Regions from separate parts of the Homo sapiens genome. Here region 2 is linked to region 1. Evidence: promoter capture Hi-C in human tissues and cell types (Jung and others, 2019). All regions are on one chromosome and are shown on one strand. The core of a region is centred on a gene start or on the middle of the fragment in contact, and the rest is flanking DNA. Distances in the headings are between cores, read along the strand shown.

Region 1 (6,350 bases), core at 3,040-5,539:
TGGCACTCTCAGTGAGGCCTCTGGTTTCTACTCCTGCCGGGAGTGACACCTGCCTGGTGGAACCTGCGTTTGGCCTTTGACCCACCCACCACCCGGCACCTGGCAGCCGGCCCCTCTCGCTCAGCACCTCACAATGCACAGATTAAAAGTGTGTTGTTTGTTACATTTAAGAACCAGTATTGAAGCATTATGAATCAAAGTCCATACTTTGAATTATTCAGACTACCTAGTTTTATCTACTATCTATGTCGGTTGTGAACTATTCCATCCTATGTCCAGGCATAATGCAGAGAATGGTGTCCTGGCCACCTTGGGGGTAACCATGGCCATAGGTCATTATCACAGAGTCCAGATGTTCCATCTGGAGCCAACCAGTAAACACCCGGTCACTATGCCCACTCAGTGGCATGCCAGCCAGGACTCTGTAACACAATGGTGTAGATGCACTGTTCTCTGGGTTCCATCCCGTATCTCCAGTGCTCCTGGGCCAGGGATCTTTGATATGATTCTTTTGTTCCCAATGTAAAGGGGCACGTGAACTAAGTTGACCCAAAGAGAGGGTAAGTCAGGTGAAACCATCCCAAGTTTGTGTTATGCCATCCCGATATTGAGTGGTCTAATCTCTCAGCTGGTGTAGTACCAGCATTAAGGTATGTGGACTTTTACTGGAAAGCTCTTCCTATGGCTTTTGCTTTGTAAAGTATCATTCATAGGCCAGTGATGCACACTTGCCTTCATCATACTAGTGCTAAGCACCAATGACTGTCCTGAGAAACACAGACACATTTCTGATATTCTGTCTACTCTTGTCCTTGAAGAGGAGCTGCCACCATGGTAGGCCAGAACCACCAGAAAGGGGCGCAAGGCCACACACCTAACGAGTGTTGTCCTGTAATTTACTAGCACAGGCCCAAGCCTACTGCAAGAAGATGTTTGTTTCATGGGCAATGGCTGGTGATGGTAGCAACAAAACAGAAGAACTAGGGACAAAAAGAAGGAAGTGTGGTGGGAACTTGTAAAGGAAGACCTTCCTCATCTACTGACGATGATTATATTAAGGGTTTGTCTAGATACAGGCCTGGTCAGGTGTCTTGAGAAGGCTGATCGCCTCACATGTTGTTTTCTTCTCATCCTTGTTGGTTCTGGAGAGTTTTAGTTTTAGATCACCAATTTGAGATGAAGTCCAAATTGACAAAGCAGCTTTCCTTGCATGGGTGGCAGGTATCCAGGAATCAACTCCTTTAAGCTTAGTGGCACAAGGGTTGGTTAGGAGTCCCTGATAAGGTTCCTTCCTCCTTGGTGGAGAAAGTCCTTTAAAGGATGCTGTTTCCTACAAAGTCTCCTGGCTGAAGTATGTGTTCCTTGAGTTTTTGCTTCTTGGAGCTCACTGTGGAAAGAATCTTTTACTAAATAACAGTTTTTACTTAGGTGCCTTATGAGGCTGCTGCAATAATACAACCTGTCCCTTTTTAATATCATCGATTTACAATTTCCTGGAGACAATTTCATAGGTCTGTCCGTTATAATTTCAGATGAAGACAGTTGGTGTTTACCCATAAGGGCTGATCTTAGGTGAAGCAAAAACAAGAAAGAGCTTCCAGTCAAGGGAGTTTTAAAACTTCAGTTAATTTTGCCAAATGAGTTTTGATTATTCTGCTTGTGCATTCTACTAACCCAGATGACTGGGGTGATAGGCACAATGGAAATGCTGGAAAATGGGCCAGATTTTGCATACTAACTGGATTATTTGTGCAGTGAAATGAGTGCCTCTGTTGCTATAAAGTTCTTGAGGAACTCCCCAAATCGGAATAATTTTCTCTAAGATAATTTTACTTACCGCCAAGGCTGCTGCTCTTCTGCATGGAAATGCTTCTACCCATGAGAAAATACACAAACCATCACTAGGATGTGCCTGTATCTTTGTGATGGTGGTAGCTGAAAAAATCTAGTTGCCATACCTCGAAAGGGCCTTCTGGTAAAGGAAAATGACATGGAGAACTGGGTCAAGGTTTCCTTGCATTATATTCTGGGAAGACAGCCCTGACTGTATACCCGTGAGCAACAGTTGGAGAAGGTTTCCGACAACATTGTTCTCCTCAAGAAATCAATAATCTTATCAGGGCTCCAGTGAGTCACATCGTGTATGCACGTTAAGAAAGATGGCTGGACCGGGCGCGGTGGCTCACGCCTGTAATCCCAGCACTTTGGGAGGCCGAGGCGGGCACATCACGAGGTCAGGAGATCGAGACCATTCTGGCTAACAGAGTGTAACCCCGTCTCTACTAAAAATACAAAAAATTAGCCCGGCATGGTGGCGGGTGCCTGTAGTCCCAGCTAGTCAAGAGGCTGAGGCAGGAGAATTGCGTGAACCCAGGAGGTGGAGTTCACGCCATTGCACTCCAGCCTGGGCAACAGAGCGAGACTCCATCTGAAAAAGAAAAAAAAAAAAAGAAAGATGGTTGTAACTTAGTTGGAAGTATGAGTAGAACATTTGGTCAAACCGTACATCAGTCTCAGAAGCGCATGTGCCACTTTTGTTTCCCAATTTTCTCGTCCTGTTTTTGGAGATTTAGATTGAGCTAATTTTACATAAAAATCTAACTTCCTTAAAGGCCAAAATGGTTTGATCTTTTTGTTCAGATATGTTTATGGCCACCCTGTTTGCTATACTACCTGCTAACTGGCTTATCTTGCTTTTTTGAGTGTCTTTGAATGGCCTGGAATCTTGATAATGGCTAATGATTTTGGCAATAGTATGGCTTGCCATAATTCTGAAACAAGGCACCCATTTTTTTGTGGGCTGACTAGAAAAGGTTAAAAATCCTTTGTCTCCATAGCATTCCAAAGTTATGAGCTACTCTATAAGCATACCTGCTATTGGTATAAAGATTAGCAGTTATTCCTTTTGCCAACTGACAGGCTCTAATTAATGCTATTAACTTTGCTTGTTGAGATGATTGCTCCTGGAAGACAAGCACTTTCTATTTCTTTGGGCAAAGACGCTATGGCATAACCAGTGTAATACCTTCCAGCTGCATCTTTAAGTAAGAGCCATCTGTAAACCAAATAACATCAGCGTTAGTGAGGGGGGTTCTTGCATGTCTGTCCTAGGAGAGAGCTGGTCAGGTAAGATGATGCAGTCATGCAGCGTTTCAGCTGAAGGTGGGGGAGAGGGTGGCAGGATTTAGATGACATCTGGACATTGTAGTATGCGGCTGAGAGAATAACTTCATGAGAAGCCAGTTACTAACTGATCGTGTTGAGTGTGATGCAAGTTTAGAAGCGTTTCCACAGAATGCGTATCGAAGGCAGTGAGGGGTGATCGCATCCTTGGTGGTTTGGTTGCTCTTGCAGAGCTGTGATGGTTGTTGCATCATGCAAGGAGACAGTCCTTTAGCTGTAGGGTCTAGTTGTTGACTGTAATACCCTACAAGTCTGCTTTGTCTCCATGTTTTTGAGTCAGAACGACAACAAACGTTTTACTTGCCAACAATTCTGCAACCTGAGCTGGACCCAGGCCCGACGGGCTTTGCAGACAGTCACGTGTGTGGCTGGCCTCAGCTGGGATGTTGGGATAGCTGGGTTGTCCTCCCTCTTCCATTTCATAGGATCTCGGGATCTCTTTCCATCATTTTTCCTTAGGAAGTTGGCCTTTTAACATGGTAGCTCACGGCTCCCAAGCGTGCACCCATGTGTAAGCTTTAACGATTGCACTGAAGTTGGCTTGGTGTAATTGTCTGCTTATCGATCTTTTTCTCGGCAGGTTTCCTGTTCTCTCACTCCGTACGTGATTAATTTATTTTCCCAGGACGTCCCAGTTACCCGGGCCGGGGGGGACCGGCCCGCGCGGCAGTGCGAGGTCGGGCCTGAGCAGGGCGCCTGTTGGATAGCGTAGCAGGTGAACTGCCCACTGCACGTTAACAATCGTAACACCCTGCACCCTTTAAACAGGCTTCTTTTTTCTTTTCTTTTTTAAACAGGCTTCTTTCATCAGAAGTGTGAATCAAACCAATGCCGTTAACACACACACCCCCACACCCACACACCAAATTATGGCCTTTATGGTGCTACCGGCCACCAAGTGCCCTCCAAGCAAGCCCGTCACGCTCGCGACTCCGGGGCCGCTCTGTCCGCGCAGCTCGAGGGCCTCGGGCCACCTGTCGCCCGGAACTTTCTCGGCCGACCGGGCAGCAGCAGGGGGAATGCACCAGACAGGGCCGGGAACGCTTAGGCAGCCGCACGCGCGGCCGCGGCGCAGGGAAGAAGCGGGGCATTGTGGGAAGCGCCCGCGCTTTCGGCGGGTTCCGTTAAAATGGCGCCCTGGTGGCCGGCGGCGCCCGCGCCTTAGCCTGTCAGGAGCAGGGAGCTTGCGGGGCGCAGGAAGGGCGCGGGCCGCGGTCCCTGCGCGTGCGGCGGCAGTGGCGGCTCTGCCCGGACCACCGTGCACGGCTCCGGGCGAGGATGGCGACCCCGGACCAGAAGTCGCCGAACGTTCTGCTGCAGAACCTGTGCTGCAGGATCCTGGGCAGGAGCGAAGGTAGAGTGGCCGGGCGACGCGAAGCCCGCAGACCCGTCCCGGGGGCTGCTCCCTGCGCGTGCAGCCCTAATACGTTCCGGGGCTGGAGGAACGAGGATGCAGGGCCGGGCAGAGGGCTGGGGGACGGGCCGAGGACGTGGGGCCCGGACGAGGGAGCGGAGGGCTGGGGTTCGAGGGTCAGGGAGCCGGGGAGGACAGCGGAGGGCTGGGGGCCAGGACCGGGGCGGAGGGAGTGGAGAGGCCAAGGCCGGGGCGAGAACGCCGGGGCGGGAGGCGGGAGGGCGGAGCCGAGCCGGAGCGGGCTGAGTCACCGCTCACTCCGCTCGCGGGTCCGTCAGTGAGGACGGGAGGAATGCCAGCTCGCCAATTTATCCCCCTTCTCTGGTGTCACGCGCCGTGGGAGGGCGCCTCTGCGCGCCTTTGGGTTCATCCTGTGGGGTGGAGAGAGCGGCTGCGCCGCGGAGGTGGATGCGGGGTGCTGGAGTGTCACATCATCGTCCCTTTTCGTTAGGAAAGTTTAACAGGCTTGAGTATTATGGGAAGAGGGTGTTAACGACTGTAACTGCCGTGTTTTCCTACTGTTTAAAGGGTTGAAGGTTGGATTTGATATAAAACTATTCTGGGAAAGTTCACATGGCGAATATTGTTACTAATAAGCAAAACTAATCCTATACGGTAGGTAAAACCATTTTGTAGTCGAGGTACTTTGAAAGAAATGGTACAGGATGCCATTTCTTGCTCCTTGTTTTGGCCAGGTTGGTGGGGCAGAGAGTGAGGATGCACCATGAGGGAATTTTCTGAGTAATGGAAGCAACTGAGTTACATCTTAAGCACCAAAATGTGGAAAAGAAGTTACTCAATTTTTGAAGGAAGACTTCAAAGTTACATTTAAAGTACTGAGAATGCATTTTGACCTTTCATGCTTCATGACAATTACTGTACATAATTCATTGGATGTTCTATGATAATCTTGGGGCAATCATGAATAATTTTGTGTCGCTATTAAATGAGTGACTTCACACAGTTCTTGCTGCATCTTGTAAAGTTTGATTCTATCACTTTATTTATCTAAGAAATCTTTGAGGACAACCCCGTCCTCAAAGTTCCCCCCGGGAACTGTGCTAAGTGCTGGTGATGCAGATGCACAAGTCATTCCTCCCACAGATCTGACAGACACTCTACTGGAAGAGACAGATGATAAACCAGCCATGTTAATTAGCAATAAGTACTGTGGCGAAAAAGTAGGGTAAAGGAATAGAGAGGGAAGAGGCAGGTGAGGGAAAGCCTCTGAGATATTTAAAGAGACCTGAATGGAGTAAGGGAGGGCCATTTGAACATCTGGGGAAGGTTCTGAGTAGAGAGAACCAGTGGAAAGGTCTTGAGGTATGAGCATGGCCTGCCATCGTTTGTTTTTGTCATTAGCAGACTGAGTTTCCTTTCACATGTTTCATGTTCCTCGTCATAGGGGGAATCAGATAAAACTAAGATTGTTAGGACTTACCCACCTTAATGTCAGTGTTTTCCTTATACCAGTGGTTCCAGAGTTTTTTTTTCTAGGGATAAACCACACATTCATACATTCCCATTGTTATAATTGGATTTTGAAATTCATTCATCATGAGCTAGAATGATATTTCTCAACCTAAGAACTTTTTTTTTTTTTTGAGACAGAGTCTCACTCTGGTCGCCCAGGCTGGAGTGCAGTGGTGTGATCTCGGCTCACTGCCAAGCTCTACCTTCCGGGTTCATGCCATTCTCCTGCCTCAGCCTCCCGAGTAGCTGGGACTACAGGCGCCCGCCACCACGCCTGGCT
Region 2 (6,852 bases), core at 795-3,294, 88 kb before region 1:
AAATTAAAATTAAAATTAAAAAAAACAACTTTATTTTAATTTTAGCCAAAGAAATGCTTTTTTTTTTTTTGAGTTGGAGTCTTGCTCTGTCGCTCAGGCTGGAATGCAGCAGCGTGATCTTGACTCACTGCAACCTCTGCTTCCCGGGTTTAAGTGATTCTCCTGCCTCAGCCTCTAGAGTAGCTGGGATTACAGGCATGCGCCACCACCACACCCAGCTAATTTTTATATTTTTAGTAGAGACAGGGTTTCACCATGTTGTCAGGCTGGTCTCAAACTCCTGACCTCAGGTGATCCACATGCCTCCGGCTCTCAAAGTGCTGAGATTACAGGCATGAGCCAGTGCGCCTGGCTGCATTTGCATAGTTTTAAAAGAAAATGGTGCTACCCGGCCTGTAAGAATAACCCGATGTCCTTGTCATCACCTACTCCAGAGCCCCCTGCAGAGACAATCACTCATAGCTCTTTGCTCTTCTACCTTTATTGTGTCCATATTTCCAAATTATGTGCTTATAGCATGATTTTGAAAATTTCAACAGCACCAGTTACATAGGAAGATAAATATTTAGCTCATTCGTGCTCCTACCTCTACCTCTCTCTACTGCACGTGTCCCCACAGAGGCCACACCGGTCTCCATTCAATCTCTGCCTGTGATGGTAACAAGATTACATTCTCATAGCTGCATGTCCGTGCATGTGCTACACGCTGCCCCTGTGTTGTTCATGCATTTTCACTGCATCTTCTTTCTTATACCACCTTTTTTCCTTGAAGATAATCATTGCCTCCATCTTTCATTTTCTTAGGTTTCTTTTTTTTTTTTTTTTTTTTTTTGAGACAGAGTCTCACTTTGTTGTCTAGGCTGGAGTGCAGTGGCACAATCTCAGCTCACTGCAACCTCCGCCTCCCTGGTTCAAACGATCCTCCTGCCTCAGCCTCCCAAGTAGCTGGGATTACAGGGGCCCGCCACCATGCCTGGTTAATTTTTGTATTTTTAGTAGAGACGGGGTTTCACCATGTTGGCCAGGCTGGTCTCGAACTCCTAACCTCAAGTGATCCTCCTGCCTCGGCCTCCCAAAGTGCTGGGATTACAGGTGTGAGCCACTGTGCCCGGCCTCATTTTCTTAGCTTTCTGTATAGTTTCTACTAGTTCACGGCCATACGCTCGTATTTGTCAGTGCCATTCTATTTTTTTTCTGCAGACATCCCTCCTGTCACCCTTTGACATCCTGCTGCAATCTGACGGTGACTTTCTAAACTTGCTGCATACTTCTATACTCCGGTCACAGCCATACACTCGTATTTGTCAGTGCCATTCTATTTTTTTCTGGAGACATCCCTCCTGTCACCCTTTGGCATCCTGCTGCAATTGACGGTGACTTTCTAAACTTGCTGCATACTTCTATACTCCGGTCACAGCCATACACTCGTATTTGTCAGTGCCATTCTATTTTTTTCTGGAGACATCCCTCCTGCCACCCTTTGGCATCCTGCTGCAATCGACGGTGAGTTTCTAAACTTGCTGCATACTTCTATACTCTGGCTACACTTCACAGGTATCAGGAATTCCCTCCACTTCTCTCATAAGCCCTTATTTTCTGCATTCCATGATTTTTTCTTCCTCCTTGATTTATCGGTTTAATTTAGTGGACTGTATTCTCTAGTAGCTTCCTGGGAAAGGGTGCATGAAACATCAGCAGTTAAAATATTTTTCTGACCTTATAGTGATGGATAATTTGGCTGGATATGTTAGTCACAGGTAGGAAATATTTGTCTTCAAAATGTTCAAAGTGAAACGTGGTGGTGGCATAGTGTTTAATCTTTCTAAATCCCAAAATTAAAACAGAACAACTAGATAGCAAAACCAAAAACCTATGAATCACATTGACAACAAAATTAGATAACAAAGTATCCCCATGAACCTTTGGATTGGAGGTGTGAGTGCAAGTGGGTGTGTGAGGAGATGTTATGAGGGAGTCTTCAGAAGGACTAGACTTTTTGCATTTTACTAAATACAAGACTTTAAAAAAGCAAAATGCATTATGAAAATTTCTTAAAATGATGTTTTACACAGAGAATTTCACTTTAATTAAAAGAACTTGTTTCAAATAGCAAGTAGGTTAAGTTTAAACCAGTACCTTTCCACTATAAATCATTTTCTGAAAGTTTTTTCTCCTGTTCTTCAATCTGAAATATAAAGGAAGGGAGGCTTGCCAGTTCTGGATAGAAATGATCAATCTCTGGACTAGCTTAGCAGGAGGTAGTAAAATTATAGTGCTTGGGTTAGTGTAACATCTCACATGACAAGCAAATGCCTGGAGAATCTCTGCACCACGGAGGCTACGGTGGGGAGCGCTTTCTTCAATCTACTTTCAGAAGCTGTAAGAAATGAGCTTTTGAGCAAACATCGTCAGCCAGAACCCAACACCCAGAGCAAACCCTACTGCAGTCTGTGCACCTGACGCGCCTTTAGACTTTGAAGATAAAAATAAAAAGTCTTTTGCCTCCTGTCCAATAAAATCAAACAATTAAAATGTCATCGAGTTCCGTGTGCCCACTTTGAAATATTATTAATAATAATAACAGCATTTGCATTCATTTCTATCTTCAAGGCCTTTCCTAAACACCAATTTTTTCCAGCTCTTCAAGGGGAGCATCTGCTGAACAGGACGGGTGAAGTGATGGGAAGCAGGAGCAGGCCTGCGGTCGCAGTGAGTACATCACATTGCGTGATAGGGAATGGGGAGTGTCTGTGGGAGACTGGCCAGAGGTCGTGTCTTTCACAGATATAAGTGCGAGAGGGATTCTGGATGTGCTCTCAGTTTCGCAAGGCTCTTAATGAACTTCTTTGTCACCTGTTTGGGCTCTGATTTTCCATTGTTCAGAATTCCATATAAATTACAATGGAAAAATAAAAAAAATTAACTCTTGTTGTTGTTGTTATTCCTGAGGACTTGGAACCATGACTGATGCGAGGCTGGTGAGGCCATGTGAGCCGGGGTCAGCGGCGGGCAGGGCTGGGAACCTCTTGCCACTCCGTGAACCCTAGCATGACAGGATGCCCCACCTTTCCCTTAAGCTTGCCTTTCTCCGCCTCCCTCCCTCCCCCCTTCCTTTCCTCCCACCTGCTCCCACCTCTCCCTGTCTGCCCATTTTCCTCCATTTATTGGCACTGGATGCCCACACCCAGGACACACTAGGAAGCTGCTGAGGGTGAGCAGGCCTCATGACAATGTCATCAGATCAGCGTTTGCTTTAGAGGCAGGTGGGGAAGAGGAGGTACAAGATGTTTGTCTTGATCTCTGCTGTATGAGAATCGATACCACCAAGACTTCCTCAGCAGAAAGAAAATGTCAATAGCTTTGTGGCTTTCAGGCCCAAATGAGTATTAAGTGGCTGCTTATTTTTAAGGCTCATTTTTAAGGGACCATTTTTAAACCCTGTTGTTTGCTATAATACAATTATAAAATAATTTTACTTTTGTAAGCTTTACTGTAAAGAATCTGATCCTGTTACCCAACTTAGCGTATATTAACTAGATTTGGTTGCTTTTTATAGCATGAAATACAAAATTCTCCAACTGGTCGTCACAGTCTATCATAATGTGGCCAACCTCTACATATTTACCCAGATTTCCTTCCTTTCTCAGCATTGCTGTCTCATCCCCCTGGAACATCTTCCTTCCGTGCTGGGCAAACCGCATCCACCCTGTAGACTCAGTGCTGCCGTGCTCCCCTCATTCCTGAGCCGCTTCTGTCTCTGGGACTTCGGGAGGCACAGTTCTGATAGGGCTCACAATGTTCCCACCCCATGCTCGGGGGCTCCGTGCAGTCCCCTCTCCTTGGTGGGAACGGAGGCTGATGTTTCTCCCCTGATCAGGCTACATTCTCTTGTAAATATGAAGGAATTCTGCAGTGGAATTAAGATCCCTAATCAGTCAATTTTGAGCTAGTCAAAGGGAGGGTTATCTTGGGTGGACCTGGATAAAAGATAGGGAAAGTTAGAGCGATTTGAGGCTGCAGAGATATGCTCCTGTTGGCCTTGAGGGAGGAAACTGCCGTGCTTTGTGGAGAGCCACATGAGAGGGAGCAGAGGGGCCTCTAGTAACTGAGAGCAGTTCCCAGCAGGCAGCAGCAGGAAACAGGGGCCTCAATCCCACAAGCACAAGGACCTGGATGCTGCCAACAGCCAGTAAGCTTGAAGGTGACCTTGACCTTCGGATGAGCACCTGGCCCCAGCAGCACCTTGACTTCAGCCTTGTGAGGCCCCGATGAGAGGACCCAGCTGGTCACATGCAGACTCTTGACCCATGGAAACGAAGAGTGAGAAACGTGTGTGGTTTTAAGCACCTAAACCTGGGATCATTTGCTATACAGCAAAAAGAAACTAATACAGGCGCCGGGCGCGGTGACTCACGCCTGTAATCCCAGCACTTTGGGAGGCCAAGGCGGGCAGATCACCAGAGCTCAGAAGTTTGAGACTAGCCTGCGCAACATGGTGAACCCCGTTTGTACTAAAAATAGAAAAATTAGCTGGGCATGGTGGCGGGTGCCTGTAATCCCAGCTACTCCAGAGGCTGAGACAGGAGAATAGCTTGAACCCGGCAGGTGGAGGTTGCAGTGAGTCGAGATTGCGCCACTGCACTCCAGCCTGAGCGACAGAGCAAGACTCTGTCTCAAAAAAGAAGAAAGAAAGAAGGAAGGAGGGAAGGAAGGAAGGAAGAAAGGAAGGAAGGAAGGAAGGAAGGAAGGAAGGAAACTCCATCTCAAAAAGGAGAAAGAAAGAAAAAAGCAAGCAAGAAAGAAGGAACGAAAGTCCATCTCAAAAAGGAGAAAGAAAGAAAAAGAGAAAGAGAAAGGAAAGAGAGAGAAAGAAAGAAAAAGAAATTCCATCTCAAAAAGGAGAAAGAAAGAGAGAGAAAGGAAAGAAAGGGAGAAAGAAAGAAAGAAAGAGACTCCATCTCAAAAGAAAAAAAAAAGAGAGAAAGAAACAAAGACAGGTATCCTGTGGCACATGGTGTGGCCTTCTCTGCTAGAGAGAGGGCTAGAACTGTAATTCTCTGATGCTATGATGGCCTCTTGCACTGCTTTTGTGAATTCCTTTGGTGGAGGGACGTTCACGTTGCCACCGTTTTTTGCAAAGCCCCACCCTGACAGTCATCCCTGTTGCAGGTGTGAGCCCCCCAGGCTGTGGGGCACTGGGACACGTCTCTTGGTGTCTTCCATGCCCTCCCTGTTCACCCCAGCTGCTCCCCTGACACGTCAACTGTGTATCACGTTCCCTCTGCCTGTGGAGGCTGGACTCAGCTTCCTCCTCTTGGTGGGGCCTGCTGGGGGATGTGGGATGGTTTCTGGGCTTCCATTTTTCCCAGCAGGCACCCGTGCCTGCCTCTAAAGCCTTGCTCTCCCTCCTGGAGGTGCCACTGTGCATGGCCTCAGATGGAGGATCGTTCCAACAGCCACTCGCCCCTTACTGCTTCAGGTGAGCGGCTCTCCCTCACGCACCCCTTCTTCGGCACCTGATACGGGAGGGGACCATTTGGTGTGGAACGGGCAAAGTATGGTCTTCGACTACAAGGAATGTGAGGAGAGAGGCTCCTCTTTCTGTTCCCTGGGACAGCCAGTGCGTGGTGTTAGACCAAAGCGCACGGATGTTATTCTTGGACCAGGGACCCAAAGGAATGATTGCAGCTCAGACAGCCAGACTTGCCTGCAGCTCCGGCCCCTCCACCTCTCTTGGTAATTTTCGGAGCCATTTCTAATCCTGGCTTTCTGGCCTCCTTCAATTCTTTGAGCTCCTGTATCCTTTCAGTTAATTCCCTCTGACTCTTAGATAGCATGATTTGGCCGGGCGCAGTAGCTCACACCTGTAATCCCAGCACTTTGGGAGGCCAAGATGGGCAGATCACCTGAAGTCAGGAGTTTGAGACCAGCCTGGCCAACATGATGAAACCCCATCTCTACTAAAAATACAAAAATCAGCTGGCGTGGTGGCAGGCGCCTGTAGTCCCAGCTACTCGGGAGGTTGAGGCAGGAGAATCGTTTGAACCCCGGAGGCGGAGGTTGCAGTGAGCCAAGATTGCACCACTGCACTCCAGCCTGGGCGACAGAGTGAGACTCTGTCTCCATAAAAAAAAAAAAAAAAAGCAATAGCATGATTTGTTTCAGTTGCTTATAACTGGGACCCCTGATGGATTCAGCTCTCCAGTGATAATGTATAACAGCCACCGCCACGTGTGTCTCATAAACATCTGTAGCATCCCTTGTGCACATAACGACTTGGACATGGGTCAGTGCCGCAGACCTGAGCCACACTGCTGGGGCTCAAGCCCTGGGTTTGCATGTACCAGCTGTGAGGCATGGGAAAGCTAGAGGAGCCCGCGGCCCCTTGTCTGTGAAACAGGGACAATGACAGTCCTCGCCTCACTGGATGACGGTGGGATTGCATGAATTCCTATACACAATGCTCTCGAAACGGTGTCAGAGGAGTATTTGCTATTATTTCTTCCTATTCTGTTTGACTATGGAAAATGATATTTTATTATTTCTCCAACTAAATTTTAAGAGGTTCTTTATTTTCATTCCCTCCAGCGCACCAAGCCTGGGCGGGGAGTACATGGTTCCGCACAGGTATCGGGGTCTGTGGCCTTGGTACCTCCCCAGCCAGAAGATCACATGCACCCCCGGATCTCACAGCCTCTTCAGGAGCGAGCCCTGGACAGCACTGTCAACAAGACGGGTGCTCTGTGGTTTCCCTGTTTTCTGTCAGAGAATGTTCTGGTTTCTGATGACTCCAACCTGCATGCAGATTACATCCCAGCAGGGAGTTGACGGCAACTGGAATCGTGCCAGCTT

The links. The method cuts DNA at HindIII sites, captures the fragments that hold promoters and counts their contacts. A contact is called where the count stands out against the background at its distance.
Region 2: a contact is called between a fragment that was not itself captured here and the fragment with the promoter of TUBGCP3 in region 1, in 2 of the 25 tissues and cell types used here (pancreas and spleen).

The regions. Positions count from the first base shown.
Region 1 is chr13:112,586,092-112,592,441 of GRCh38, reverse strand. TUBGCP3 (tubulin gamma complex component 3) reads left to right here and starts at 4,289. Exons shown (of 22, transcript NM_006322.6): 1 at 4,289-4,537. The coding sequence starts at 4,462. LOC124903251 (a long non-coding RNA gene) reads right to left here and starts at 4,256. Exons shown (of 2, transcript XR_007063945.1): 1 at 3,026-4,256; 2 at 1-2,428. RefSeq lists an enhancer at 3,474-4,293 and silencers at 4,359-4,578, 4,609-4,668, 4,699-4,818. The HindIII fragment of the contact is 4,898 bases long and covers 2,474-6,350 here.
Region 2 is chr13:112,671,060-112,677,911 of GRCh38, reverse strand. All of the region lies in intron 1 of ATP11AUN (ATP11A upstream neighbor lncRNA), which reads right to left. Among named protein-coding and RNA genes, the nearest start is that of ATP11A, 16 kb to the left of the region's middle. The HindIII fragment of the contact is 8,066 bases long and covers 1-6,077 here.